Linked DNA regions of Homo sapiens: region 2 is linked to region 1. Evidence: promoter capture Hi-C in human tissues and cell types (Jung and others, 2019). All regions are on one chromosome and are shown on one strand. Each heading gives the region's core, a stretch centred on a gene start or on the middle of the fragment in contact. The rest is flanking DNA. Distances are from core to core; before and after follow the strand shown. Region 1 holds the start of ADCK2 (aarF domain containing kinase 2). Region 2 overlaps TMEM178B (transmembrane protein 178B).

What was found. Contacts are between HindIII fragments. The study calls those that stand out against the background at their distance.
Region 2: a fragment that was not itself captured here is called in contact with the fragment with the promoter of ADCK2 in region 1 in 1 of the 25 tissues and cell types used here (thymus).

The regions. Positions count from the first base shown.
Region 1 is chr7:140,671,633-140,675,082 of GRCh38, forward strand. It overlaps ADCK2 (aarF domain containing kinase 2), which reads left to right and starts at 1,313. Exons shown (of 8, transcript NM_052853.4): 1 at 1,313-2,631; 2 at 2,979-3,125. The coding sequence starts at 1,699. RefSeq lists a silencer at 1,248-1,707. The HindIII fragment of the contact is 30,105 bases long and covers 1-3,450 here.
Region 2 is chr7:141,076,343-141,079,511 of GRCh38, forward strand. All of the region lies in intron 1 of TMEM178B (transmembrane protein 178B), which reads left to right. Among named protein-coding and RNA genes, the nearest start is that of TMEM178B, 3.9 kb to the left of the region's middle. The HindIII fragment of the contact is 3,666 bases long and covers 1-3,169 here.

The sequences.
Region 1 (3,450 bases), core at 63-2,562:
TATTTATTGGGCTCAGTGAGTATTATTGAATGAATGAATATGGCCTTTCCGGAGCCTTTCCCCAAGGTCCAACACAATTGCCGAATTAATGCAGCCGAGGACACAGCATCCAGTTCCTACTCCTGCAGCCCAGTTACCCCCATCCAACACCACCCCCCTACCCAACCCCCGCTGAAAAGCGGACCTGTGTTCAGAACCTGCCTTCATACTTTTCAGCCATGCTCTTTGGAATAATGAAAGATACGAAGAAGTCAGTGGGAAGATAGACATGGGGAGGGGGACATAGAGGGTGCCTTTGCGTTTTGCTACCCAGGACCCAGGACTCAAGGGCAGGGTGGTCTTGGCCTGGGGTCGCCGTCCTCTTTAAGGGGCGGGTCAAGGGACCCTGGCTGCCCGGGCCTCTGCCACCGACCCTCTGCTCCCTCCGACCCTCACCGCCCAGCACCCAGCCCTCTGCCCCCACCGGCCACCCTGTAACAGCCCAGCGGGTTCACCTTGCCTGCTGCCTAGACAGAGCCGATTTATCAAGACAGGGGCATTGCAATAGAGAAGGAGTAATTCACACAGATCAGGCTGCGCGGGACACTGGGCAGAGTTTTTAAGGACAACTTGGTGGGTGGGGGAAGGCCAGTGAGTCGAGAGTGCTGATTGGTTGGGTCGGAGGTGAAATCTTAGGGAACTGAAGCTGTCCTCTTGTGCTGAGTTAGTTCCGGAGTGGGGGCCTAAGATCAGATGACCTGGTTTATCGATCTGGTAGGTGTCAGTTGATCCATCAAGTGCAGGGTCTGCAAAATATCTTGAGCACTGATCTTATTAGCAGTTTAGGGAGGGTCAGAATACTGTAGCCTTGCTGCCTGACTCCTAAATCATACTTTCTAATCTTTTGGTTAATTTGTTAGTCCTACAAAGACAGTCTATTCCCCAGGCAAGAAGGAGGTTTGTTTTCAGAAAGGGCTGTTATCATCTTTGTTTTAAACTATAAAGTATAAACTAAGTTCCTCCCAAAGTTAGTTCAGCCAACGCCCAGGAATGAACAAGGACAGCTTGGAGGTTAGAAGCAAGATGGAGTTGGTTAGGTCAGATCTCTTTCATTATCTGTTATAATTTTGCAATGGCGGTTTCAACCTAGTGGCCGAACCCGTCCCATCCATCTCCCGCGCCCCTCCGCTCCACCACAGCCCTCGGTGCCTCGGTTCCCTGCACCTGCACTCCCGCCCGCCCCCGACGCTCCGCCCCCGACGCTCCGCCCGCCCTCCACGCTCCGCCCCGCCCTCCCGGCCCCCGCCTGCGCCCGCGCCCTGGGCTGGTGCCCGCCACCCCAGCGATCTCATACTGGCCCCTGGGCGCACGGTGACCCTGCGGCTGCCCGGCCCCTGCCTCCGCCCGCGCGGCCCCCTCGCTCAGGTCGCGGGCGCCCGGGGCCTGGCTTCGCGTGGGTCCTGGCTCCTCCCGTTCCGCAGTTGGTGCCGTCTGACAGCCCCTTCCGCGCGGCGCGGCGCGGCGCGGCGGGTGTCGGGCGGGGCGCGGGCCTCCGGCCTGAGGCCCGGCGAGGTGCTGGAGGGAGCGGGGCGCGGATCCGGCCCAGATGGGCAGCTCCGTCCGCGGGGTCAGGGCCGGGCTTCGGCTTCACCGCAGCCTCGCCTGAGCGGGCGCCTCTGAAGTGGAGGGCGGGCCGCCTGGGCCGCGGGCCTCGGGAGGATGGTGGCGCCCTGGCGCGTCTCCGTCAGGGTTTGCCTGTCGCACCTGAGGTGCTTCGAGCTCAGACAGGGACTCAGCCTCCTGAGGCCCTCCGAGTGCCCTCGCGATGCCAGGCTCTGCTGGCTTCTGCTGGGCACTTTGCCCAAGGTCGTCTCCCTGTGCGGGGACGTGGGTGAGGGGGCCCCTGACGTTCTGAGTCGGCGAAGGGTCCGCTGCAGCGGGGCGGCTGGCGCGGGGCCCGCGGAGAGCCTCCCCCGAGCGGGACCTCTGGGCGGCGTCTTCCTGCATCTCCGCCTCTGGCTTCGCGCCGGCGCTCTGTTGGTGAAATTCTTCCCCCTCCTACTCCTCTACCCCCTCACCTACCTGGCTCCCAGCGTCTCCACCCTCTGGCTCCACCTGCTTCTGAAAGCCACCGAGACCTCAGGCCCAACCTACATCAAACTGGGCCAGTGGGCCAGCACCCGGCGCGATCTGTTTTCGGAGGCTTTCTGTGCCCAATTTTCCAAGCTGCATGTCCGAGTGACGCCCCACCCGTGGACTCACACTGAGCGCTTCCTTCGGCAGGCTTTTGGGGATGACTGGGGGAGCATCCTCTCTTTTGAGAACCGGGAACCTGTGGGCTCAGGCTGCGTGGCCCAGGTGTACAAAGCATACGCCAACACTGCCTTCCTGGAGACTGACAGCGTCCAGAGACTTGGCAGGGCCTCCTGTCTGCCGCCCTTCTCACATACTGGGGCAGTCGGTGGGCTGAGAGAGCTCTTTGGATACCTTGGAAATGGCCGGAAACCTCCAGAAAATCTCGCAGACCAGTCGTTTCTAGAAAGGCTGCTCCTCCCTAAAGCTGACCTGGTTGGATCAAATGCAGGGGTGTCTCGGGCTCAGGTCCCTGGCCACCAACCTGAGGCCACCAACCTCATCTCCGTGGCAGTGAAAGTAAGTGTTGTGAGAGCTCACAGCTCACCTACCCACTGAGCTATCCCAGATCAGAAACAACCGCCATGCAAATCGCCCCCACGTTTATTTCTATTTGCCTGACCAATATCTGAGTGCTTATTTCATGCAAGCTGTTTCATTTATTGGCTTGAAGTGGCGGTGTGAATAGTCTGATAGAGGAAAATGAACTGAGTCTGGAGTGAACTAACTGCTTGGGTGTCGGGACCACATCCTCTTTTCTTTGATAAGAAGCCACCTGGCTCTTGCTTGGATGGTGGGACCCAGCCCTGGCTGGGTAAAATGTGTCCAGCAGGTTTCTCCTGTCTCACGGTTCCTCTTTCTGACAGGTGTTGCACCCTGGCCTGCTCGCTCAGGTGCATATGGACCTGCTGCTGATGAAGATTGGCAGCCGAGTCCTGGGAGTTTTGCCAGGCATCAAGTGGCTTAGCTTGCCTGAGATTGTGGAGGAATTTGAGAAGCTGATGGTCCAACAGGTGAGTTCTCCTCCCCTCAGCTGTAAATAGCACCTAACATAGTTCTTGCCATTAGCTGCTACTTAGTAAATGTTGAATGAATAATTTTCTGGTATGTCATAACTCATGTGATGTGTTAGAGCTGGTAACACTAGCTGATAAAGAACATCCAAATCTCAGTGGCTTAATGCAACAAATTAATTTTTTGCTTATATCAAAGTTCTGGCCGGGCGTGGTGGCTCATGTGTGTAATCCTAGGACTTTGGGAGGCTCAGGCAGGTGGATCACTTGAGGCCAGGAGTTCGAGATCAGCCTGGCCAACATGGTGTAACCCTGTCTCTACTGA
Region 2 (3,169 bases), core at 547-3,046, 410 kb after region 1:
AGGAAGTTAGCTGAAATGTGAGGGAGAATTCATGTTAATAATGAACAGCAAACACTGGGAGAATTTGTTGAAGGATATTCTTACTTTTCCTTCCTTGAATGCCTTCTAGAATAAGAGAGGTATCCCTTCTTGTGTTGGTTAACCCCACTTAGAGAAAGGGGGATGGAATTCATGGTTTCTGGCGGTTCCATTCAGAGCTTTGATTCCCTGTTGCTCTGCTTGGCAGTCTGACTAGAAAGGTTGACTTGGTCTGTGCACTGGAGGGGTTGGTTGCCATAGTGACATGTTCTTCCGGTGAAGCTGGAAACAGAGACAGGGAAAGGGATAGGGGAAGAATGTACAACATTTTGATTTTGTATCGACTGATTTTTAATTGCAGCAACAGAAAATGGACATGGCACAGCAGGGGTATTGAATACACTGATACCTAGAGTTGGCAGGGCATTGTATTTCACTTGAACTAATGGAAATGGTGTTCCCCATCGCCCAAAATACAGCAATCACTGTCAGCGGCAAGCACCCGCTTACCATGGCTGTTTCTGTCCATTTGACATTCTTGTTAGGTATTATTGAGATAGATGACATGCCAGCCTTACAAATCTTGAGAGAGTTAAGGTCACTATCTTCATTTTTAACCTCAACACACACTCTTTGAAAACCAGATCTTCCTTTTCTGAGCAGCAATAGACACATTTTGGAAATAAGTGCATGTTATATTAGTAGAATTCACAAGCAATTCCAATAACATATAGAACACAATTTTTACACTTAGTGTTCCTCTTAGATGGGCAGATTTTATAAGGAAGTTAAAAAGAGAAACTGATATCCCTATATTTAAATGAGACATTTTAGAAAAAGATGTTTATCTCACATTATTCATTAGAAACCGCAAAAGAGATCTCAGACCTCTGTCTTCTTTGAAATATCTACTTTGATTAAAATTCTGGAAGATATGTAATGGGCAAGGGAAAAAGAAAACCAGAGAAAAGACTTTAAAATCCGTTAATATATAGGAAAATTAGAGACTTATCTAAATGATCTAAAGAACTTAGTTATTTGTTAAATCGATGTTCATTACATTAGAAAGTGCTATTTGTGCATTTCAACATAAAACCACATAATTAATAAGAAAACGAACATCAAATCTATGTCTGATTTGAAGGTAAAGTCCTCTGGATTCATATTCATTCTGAAATCCATTCCCCTCCAGGACCTTCTGCCATGCTGTACCCACACGTATGCATTTCTCATCACTGTGTATTCATTTGTTTGCATTATTAAACTGTAAGTTCCTAGAGGTCAGGAAAGACCATCATTTGTTAAATACATTCACCAGATGCTTGGTATTTGGGAAATATTTCATACAAATTAGGTTCACAGAAATGTATCCATCCAAGCTTATTCTAATTATAGAAACACTTGTGTGAGAATTTAAGTAAAAAATTAGAAAATCGTGATGGGAAAATATGAAACAGTGTGGCTGTCAGGCCAGGTCAATATTGCAACAAATGCTACATAATCTATGAAGGGACGATTTCTTGAGCTTTGCCAAAGAATAAGGAAAACAGACAATTCTGTTTTGGATAACATGTCACTAAGCAGACACATATCACTTGTGGACATTATTTTTTATGATGGATAAGGTTTTAATTATTTCCTTCTTGGGGGTAAGATTGGATATAGGGTACAGCAAGGGTAGATTACCCTGAATTCCCATTTGTTGGCATCCATGACAAGTCTTAAATCAGGTCCTTTTGTCTTCTTGCTTTTAAATCTCATCCATGTCTCCCTAGTAAGTGACTGCAGGCACTGGGGACAGATCAGTGACAAGATCAGTTTCTGAAATCCAAGAGACTTCCAGACCCTTAGGAGGAGGAGTTATAGGTAGGATTTTGTTCTAGGGAACTCTAAGGGGAAAATTATATTATTTGGTTTGTACTAAAATATTATATTGATATAGTTTGAAATAAGTAGAACTTCAACTGATACTCTAAGAACTTTTTATTATTTGAAAATTGGCCTTATAATAGACTTTGACTTAAAGAGTTCCCATAATCACAGAGTGGTTGTCAATACTCCAAAAGTAATTTTAAGAAAACATTCACATATTTAAAAATTAATAATGGGATCAGCAAATATTTACTACACATGTATTGTGTTATGGGCACACATCGCTAGGATGAAGAAATGCATAAGATCTGGTCCTCAGAATTTGCATAGTCTGTTAGTGTCAGAGAAAATAGGTTACAACTACAGGATGATGAGAGCAGCAACAGAAACAGATGCAGAGGAACACAGAGAAAGTGATGGTGGATTGTGTCGGCAGTAGCGGGAGGTAGGCAGGAGGAGGTTAGGGAAAGTTGTCCTGAGGAAATGAAATCTGAACAAGATGTTTGATAAGGTTTGGAGGTGGATGTGGAGGAAGGATATTTCAGGCAATGGGCCAGCATATGCACAGCCATAGAGGTGTGGAACAGCAGTTTGGCCTTGTGAGTGTTGATTTCTGGGGCAAGGAGAAGGAGCAGACCAGGAGCTGGAGAGCAGCCATGGACCAAGTCAGGGAGCTCGTATATCAAATCCCCTACAGCTATGCTGCCCAGTTGGGGAGCCACAACCCACATGTGGCTGTTCAAGTTAACAATAACCAAAGTTAAATAAAATAGGCTGGGCACAGTGGTTCACGCCTGTAATCCCAGCACTTTGGGAGGCCGAGGCAGGTGAATCACTTGAGTTCAGGAGTTCGAGACCAGCCTCGCCAACATGGTGAAAACCCATCTCTAGTAAAAATACAAAAATTAGCTGGGCATGGTGGTGTGTGTCTGTAATGCCAGCTACTCAGGAGGCTGAGGCAGGAGAATCGCTTGAACCTAGGAGGTAGAGGTTGCGGTGATCTGGTATCATGCCGTTGCACTCCAGCCTGGGTGACAGAGCGAGACTCTGTCTCAAAAAACAAACAAACAAAAATTATTTCCGTAGTTGTATTGGCCACATTTCAAATGTTCAGTAGCCGTATGTGCCTACTGGCTATTGTATGGGACAGTGCAGATTACAGTGAACATTCCCACCATCGGAGAAAATTCTGTTGGACAGCGCCACGCAGAGCCTATAGCCTCTAAAAGAACCAAGCACATAACTTTGTTTCAGATGAGTATAATTCCATGATAACTTG